Linked DNA regions of Homo sapiens: region 2 is linked to region 1. The links are contacts of gene promoters, found by promoter capture Hi-C in blood cells and fetal thymus (Javierre and others, 2016). All regions are on one chromosome and are shown on one strand. The core of a region is centred on a gene start or on the middle of the fragment in contact, and the rest is flanking DNA. Distances in the headings are between cores, read along the strand shown.

Region 1 (3,877 bases), core at 1,378-3,877:
TTCCACAGCTCCCCTCACTAAGAACTATGCATTTGGTGATTATTTCATAAGGGCCTATCTTGCTATTCTCTAGCAACATGTCACAGAGGGCACGCAGTGTTTGCTTAGGGCTCCAAGTCAGATGGAACAAAAAAGGAAGGATGGGGAAATTCCTGCTGTAGAAGAGACAACAAATGGCATTTCTGAGAGCATACTCATGTTCCAACTCTCAAACGTTCCACCAGATCTCAATTAGGCTGCTGATACAGATCCCTAAGCATCTGGCTATCATGGAATATTTGCAATGGCCTCGACCTGGCTCTGCCTGCTTGTCTACCCCTTGTCTACCCTTCCTGTGCAATGTTCCAGTTACCCTTGTATAAAGAGCACAGGTAATGGCTATGGCACTTCTTCCTGGCTCTGCCAGGGGCCCCAGACCTGCTGCCCTTTGGTCTGGGTGCTGTCTCCCCCAACCACCGGCACAGTGCTGGACACCCTGGAGGTGCTGCCCAATGGTGCAATCACAGCACAAGCTTAGAGGACAAGAGCCTCAGCAGAAGCACCCCTGACCAAAGCAATGCTTTGCCCTAAACTCAGGACTGAGAATGATGTGGCAGAAAGGCACCAAACCAAGGTCACAAGACTATCGACTCCATTTGTTAGCTGCACAGCTGAGGCAAGGCACAGAATCTTTGGCTGTGCACCCAAGCAAAAACTGAGCACCTAACATACCAGGGTCCTCACCCAACCAGCAGCTGGTGAACTGGGTTCCCTTCTGTGCAGAACAGGCCATGCTACCTGTCCACCTAGGCCACAGAGAGAATGAACTGACCTCACTGCATGCCTCCGGGTGCTCAAACCCTCCCAGGACAGAGCAACTCAAAGGTCTACCGCCATCCTCCTCCCACCAAAATGCTGGAGGGCCCAGCTCATCCCTCCCAAGATGCCCCAGGCATGAGGGCTAAAGTGTCAGGTATCAGATACTCAGAGAACAATACTCCCATGTAAATGTAAAAGAAGGTATTTAAATTCAAGCAAGTGAAAAGGCTTCTTTCTTTTTGGCCTTCACCAGCTCAGTCTACCAGACCAACTTTAAATTCTGAATTAAAACTCTGAATCCACCCTTAATCACCATTACATAAAAATCACAGTTACTTTTAATAATAAAGAGTTTCTTTCACTATCAAGTATACCAAAGGAAAGCCCAGAATGTTGTTATTACTATTTTTTTTTTCAGACAGGGTCTGGGTCTGGGTCTGGGTCTGTCGCCCAGGCTGGAGTGCAGTGGCACTATCTCAGCTCACTGCAACCTCCACCTCCCAGGCTCAAGCAATCTTCCAGCTTCAGCCTCCGGAGTAGCTGGGACTTAACAGGCACGCACCACCACGACCCGCTAATCATTGCATTTTTTTGTAGAGACAGGTTTCACCATGTTGGCCAGGCTGGTCTCAAACTGCTGAGCTTAAGTAATCTGCCCACCCCAGCCTCCCAAAGTGCTGAGATTACAAGCATGCGCCACCAAGCCCGGCCCCAGAATGCTAAACTTGATCAGGTTCAGTTTCCTCCATCCGGCCTCCCCCACAGCTAAGCCTCCTCTAACTTCCTCCACAGCGGTGTTGTTCTAGCCTCAACACAGTCTGGACTTGGGTTTTGTTTGTCTTTCCACCAGAACACGGTACTCTGCCCACCTGTTAAGGCGCCTGGATGTCCCTTTCTCAGAATAACATTTAAAAATGCGTAATAAAAAGGCTCGCAAATGGCCAGTCACGGTGGCTCATGCCTGTAACCCTAGCACTTTGTGGGGCCGAGGTGCATGGATCGCTTGAGCTCAGGAGTTTGAGACCAGCCTGGGCAACATAGTGAGACCCCATCTCAAAAAACAAAACAAACAAAAAGGCTCGAAAAGGAAACACTGAGATAATTATCAAAACATTTGAAAGGTAATTTGGGTACAGTAACCCGTGAGCTTTTAAGCATTAAATAACAAGATCTAGTACAGCCTCTAATAACTGTGATTTTTGTAGCAATGAGAGTAAATTATATTTTGAAAAACTTCCAACTGTAAAGTGATATGAAAATATCTGTAATTATCACTGGTGAAAAAAAAATAGGGACTGCTAATATGCCTTTGCTTTGCTGCTTACATTTATGATTAGAGGAAATAATTTTATCTAGAGGTTAGTGGAGATGGAGATATCAATTTTTTCTTATCTAAACTCATGGACCTCTTGCCTTCTACCTACCATCCCACAGACCCTGGGTTAAGAGCTCCTGCACCAGGAGTGAGAACTTCATAACAGGCTGCCTTGTATATTCAAAGTAAGTTCTAGGTTCCTTAGTGGGCAACAAGGCTCTTCAAATTGTAGGCCCTGTCTACTTCCCTATTCTCATCTTTCTGCTCCACTTCTGTGAATTAACGACTCCTAATCAAGCTTCCACCCTTAGCTGGGTCATCTCGGACTCCTAGGCACACAATGCCTAGAGCACAGCTCCATCAGGTGGCATCCATCCTCTCTTACGGTAACGTTTGTTTACCAGTCATTTCCCGTTTAACCAAACTGGAAATTCCCAAAGGTGGATTCTGTGTCCTTAAAACCTAACAGAGTGCTTAGAACTTAAAAAATGCCTACCAAATAAGCACTGTGTGCCACGTACTGACTTAGGTATGCCCCGAGGACACCAAGATGACAGGCATATTGTGAAATAAGATAACGGAAGTACACCTGGCACTTGGGTATCCACTCGGTAAATGTCGCCCTCCCTTGTACTAAGTACTGAAAATCCACTGAGGGATATCTGGTCATTCCTAAAACACATTACAGCTCATGGAAGGGAGGAAAATCAAGCTACCTTGACCATGAGCACTAAGCTTGGGTAATATGTTGGAAGCGAGGAGGAACAGGGCAGATGAGAACCAGAATTATTAATACAAAGGTAGACATCGGCAAACTGGAAGCTGGAGGCAGGAGCCCCTGGGAAATGACAGGGGCCTTCAAGCCCACCACCTCACAGAAGGCTCAGGAAACCTCAGAAGGGGATTCAATCTATCAAAAAGCCCACATGAGAAACCCCCCTGGAGCCACTCTTACTCAAACCAGACAGCTGCAAATGCACCAAGAGAACGCGTCTGTGAATCTGGAAAATTTGGGGAAAATGTTACTTTAAAGCACAAATTAGGCTCAAAGTGAATGTACTGTACAGAAATGACACCTTTCTGCATAGTTCTGCCTAATTAAAATAAAAAATGAGAGTGAGCGTTTAAATGACGTGTTGAAATGACTGCCAAAAATAGGTTTAACAAAAAAAAAAAAAACCCACATGTCAGTCGCCACCATCCATGTAGAACAAAAACCCTCCAGAACAAGATAGGTCAAAATCAGATTAGCTTAAAGAGACCATGTACAATTCCCCCCCAACCCCTGAGGCGAACGGCAGTAATAAAACACCGCCACCCAGAAAGGAGAAGAGAAGAGGCTCCTCGTTTTCACAAAGCGAAAGGCAACACCAGCTGCAGACTTTATTTCCCGGGCTTTTCCTGCAACATCAGCAAAACCTTCCGGAAGGGTCGGCCGGGCCGCTCGGGAGGAGGGGCGGCCGCGGCCCCATAGGCCCCAAGTGCCGCTCCGAGGGCCCGGGCCCGCTCGCTCCCTGGGCCCGCCCTCCCCCAGCCTTCCCGGACACAGTTAACCCGGGGCGCCGCGTCCCCGCCCCGCCGCCCGCACAGCGGCCCGCACCTGCACCATGATGGCCATCCGGAGCGAGTCCTTGGGGATGCTCTCGCTGCATTTCTTGCAAGAGGCGCGCCCGCTCTTGGCGTACTCGACTCGATAGAGCTTATCCGAAGACTCCGCCATCCTCCCCTAGCTGCCGCCAAAGCTCCGGAAGCCCGACGCCACGA
Region 2 (3,849 bases), core at 547-3,046, 3.2 Mb after region 1:
TCCCCGTCTCAAGCAGCTCAAAGTCCAGTGAGAGCTCCTAGTCTCCAATGTTTTTAAAAAGAGGAAAGAGAAAAAGATATTTTACAACAAAATCTACACTCAACCAACTGAACAATGAAATAATTCTCTTTACACCCGAGTGATATCAACAGCCCCCTAAGCTTTCATAGCAACTGGTAGATGAAAAGTCGCCACCCTAACTGCTCTCCTCCACTGTGCAAACCTACTCTAAATCCCAAATCACTACCCAGGAGGGTCCTTTCTAAAGCAATGGATTTGCAGCAAAGAATGCTTTTCTGGTGTTGCACCTGACAACCTCACAGGCCCCACAGGCCCCCTTCCACAGCCCACAGGTGCAGGTTTACCTCTATACATACGAATATTTCATAGATGCTTCTCCCCACTAACCTAGAAGCCCCAGCAGAAGTGAGGACCATGTTTCCTTGTGCATGCCACTGTAAACCCAGGGCCCAGTCCAGAATGAGGGCTCAACAGATGTTTATAGAAGGAGTGAAGATTTAGAGAAATCGAAAAAATTTTAGATCTTACAAGGCCCTTGCATCTAAACACTCCTCCAATTATGGCTAAAAAATGAGGAGCTATAGAAAACTGTCCTATTTAAATTTTGTTTCTAAAAACATTCATTTTGGCTTCTTTTAAAAAAGTTACTCAATTACTGAACAGATCACTGGTGTGGCCTGTTGAACACAGTGCTGTAACTTCCTGCACAAGAGACAAGTCTGAAAGTTTTGCTTTCCGCTGTGAAAGCATTGGTGACTGCTTGACAGACTCGCTTGAAGCAAATAATGTGTTTTTGGTTAAAAAAAAAAAGTATAAACGCCTAATAACAAAATAGGCATATTTTTGGCTAGAATTTTTTTTTCCAAGGAAAAACCTCCAGCTCATTTTGCTGCCTAAGCCAAAACAGATGCTCCCACTAAGTTGGTGGTGGAACAGACCCAAAGATTCCAATAATGACATATATAACGTGTGTCAACAAGAAAACAAGTGTAAAATCTGCAAACGAGTCCCCAGCTAAGGCGAAATCTTGACAACGCTACTCTGAGGTGAGCGATCCCCTCCCTCCTCCGGGGTTAGGAGTGGCCCAGGAGAGGCGGCGGTGACACGCGCTCTGCGGCCCGGCCGTGTCCCTCTCGGCGCCCCGGGACCCCGCGTGTGGAGAAGGAGAGGCCCGGCGGAGGGAAGTGGCCGGGGAGGACCCTACCTGCCAGCCTCCGGCGCTCAGGGTACGCCAGCCCCAGGAGCTTCCGGGCCTCCGGGAGTCCGGCCGCTGCGGGGCGCAGCCGCCCCTTGTCCCCGGGAGGCGCCGCCGGCCCGCGCCGCCAGGCCTCGTCCCCTGCCCAGGCAGCGGCTGCGGGACCGCCCGGGAACCGGGCGCGCGGGAGCCGAGGAGCGCCTGGCCCGGCAAAAGCCCCGCACCTGCAGCTGCCGGGGCCGCGAGCCCACAGCCCCAGGAGCCGCGCGAGGCCCAGGACGCCCCGCGAGGCGCCCGGACCCCCGCCCCGGCAGCCGCTCCTCCAGCGGCGCGCGGCTCCAACGCCCCAGAGCAGCGCGGGCCCCGCGCCCCATAGCCGCGCCGGCCTCAGGCCAGTGAACGGCGATAGGGACCCGGGAACGCGGCTGGCCGCGGCCCACACGCAGGCTACCGGCAGGAGCCGACCTGGCTCGGCAGGGCTCGGTGGCTCGAGCAGCCGCAGCGGCCAGGCAGGGGGGCCTCGCATGGCGCTGCGTGCGACCCGTACGCCTCAGCCCGCCGGCCAGGCGCGCGCAAAGCCCGAGGACCCTCCCGGCCCGGCCCCGAGCAAAGGGCGTGGACGCGGTGGCGCCCGCCCCTCCCCGCTGGCTGTCACCCGCCTTATCGTGCCTGCACCCTCGGGCTGCGCCCGCCCCCGCCCCATCCTCGTCCGCGCGGTGCCGCGCCTCTCCGCCCCACTCCGGGGACTGCAGCTACCCGGACCTTGCAAGCCACCCTTCCGAGCGCCCCCAACCCGCTCGGGTGCCCTCCCTGCAGCGCCCCCAACTGCCCGCTGGCGGAGGAGCGCCGGGCGCGCCAGCTGGGACGAGGCCCGGGAAGCCCAGGAGCACGGCTGCGCCTGCGTACTGGGCGCAGGGAACTTTTTCGCGCTTCGCCGTCCCCTCTGGTCTGAACTTGGGAACGACACGAGCTCTTTCTCACGCCGGCAGACCGGGCGGAGCGCGCAGACGCGACCACACGATGGCCGGCACAAAGATGGGGCGGGAGGACAGCGTGCTGGATACGGCGTGGGGCGGGTCCGCGGCCCGGGAGACCCATGCTGGGGCGGCCCTGTCACTCGTCTCGCTGCCAAGCACAGGGCTGAGGTGCGGAGGGACCACTGAGAGGACTTCGCTGCGTGTCAGCTCAGCTCTGGACGGCGTGGAGGAGGTGGTTGGCGAATAGTGAAATGTATATAACTTTGAGAAGGGAAGAGATCGTTTCTTTTTTTTCTTTTTTTTTTTTTTCTTGAGACGATCTCGGCTCACTGCAACCTCTGCCTCCCAGGTTCAAGTGATTCTCCCTTCTCAGCCTCCCAAGTAGCTGGGATTACAGGCATACGCCACCACACCCGGCTGATTTTGTATTTTTAGTAGAGACGGGGTTTTACCATGTTGGTCAGGCTCTTTTCGAACTCCTGACCTCAGGTGATCCGCCCGCGTCAGCCTCCCAAAGTGCTGGGATTGCAGGCGTGAGCCACCGTGCCCGGCCTGAGATCGTTTCTTAACTAGAGCAGAAATTTGAAGACAGGCGTGGTCGAGGCATTCCCGCTGTTCGAAGTGGAAAACACTAATCAGAAGGCAATGCATCTTAATACACGTGCATGGAAAGACAGGAGAGAACATTAAAACTCACTGGGACACTTTATGGAGACTTCATGGGGGCGGGGGGGGATATGTACCTGAGGTCCAGTGAGTCGTGGGTAGATTTTTGTAGACTCCTAGGTATTTTTACTGGACCTGGACAGGGTACTGTCAGTTGCAAATTTTATGGGTTCACAAAATAAAAAAACCTCAATAATCAACATAAACATTTTAGTGCAATATTTTTAAAAATCAAAATTAATTTAAAAAATCCGTAATGAACAAAATATAAAAAATTTTGATTGAGTATCCACTCCTGACCTTTCACAATCCTGCCTCTCTTCTCTCGCTCTAATCCCAGCCCTGGAAACTTTATTTACAAAAACTGACAGCAGCTGCCCTTAGTTTGGCAGCTGGAAAATGGGAAAGAGAAAGTAAGAGGAAGGTGAGATTTGGGTTAAAGTTGTCACTTTCTCTTCAACTGGGAGGGTATCAATCCTTGATGTTTCTTTAGTTGGGCTCAAAAAGGAGGTAGCGGCCGGGCGCGGTGGCTCACACCTGTAATCCCAACATTTTGGGAGGCTGAGGCGGGCGAATCACGAGGTCAGGAGTTCGAGACCAGCCTGACCGACGTGGTGAAACCCCGTCCCTACTAAAAATACAAAAATTAGCCAGGTGTGGTGGAGCGTGCCTGTAATCCCAGCTACGCAGGAGGCTGAGGCAGGAGAATTGCTTGAACCCGGGAGGCGGAGGTTGCAGTGAGCTGAGATGGTGCCACACCGCACTCCAGCCTGGGAGACAGAGCAAGACTCCGTCTCAAAAAAAAAAAAGAAAAGAAAAAAAAAGAGGAGGTAGCGGCCAGGCGGTGGCTCACACCTGTAATCCCAACATTCTAGGAGGCCGAGGCGGGCGGATCACTCCAGGTCTGGAGTTTGAGACCAGCCTGGCCAACATGGTGAAACTCCATCCCTACTGAAAATACAAAAATTAGCTGGGCTTGGTGGTGCATGC

Evidence for each region. Contacts are between HindIII fragments. The CHiCAGO score rates a contact against its expected background, and 5 or more counts as called.
Region 2: the fragment with the promoter of ABCB10 here is called in contact with a fragment that was not itself captured in region 1 in 1 of 17 cell types (non-activated CD4 T cells); the score reaches 5.5 in non-activated CD4 T cells.

Annotation. Positions count from the first base shown.
Region 1 is chr1:226,404,097-226,407,973 of GRCh38, forward strand. PARP1 (poly(ADP-ribose) polymerase 1) reads right to left here. Exons shown (of 23, transcript NM_001618.4): 1 at 3,714-3,877. The coding sequence starts at 3,833. Among named protein-coding and RNA genes, the nearest start is that of PARP1, 2.1 kb to the right of the region's middle. RefSeq lists an enhancer at 2,562-2,621 and a silencer at 3,572-3,671. The HindIII fragment of the contact is 437 bases long and covers 2,410-2,846 here.
Region 2 is chr1:229,556,911-229,560,759 of GRCh38, forward strand. ABCB10 (ATP binding cassette subfamily B member 10) reads right to left here and starts at 1,797. Exons shown (of 13, transcript NM_012089.3): 1 at 1,226-1,797. The coding sequence starts at 1,742. RefSeq lists silencers at 1,007-1,456, 1,517-2,216 and an enhancer at 2,387-2,576. The HindIII fragment of the contact is 4,467 bases long and covers 160-3,849 here.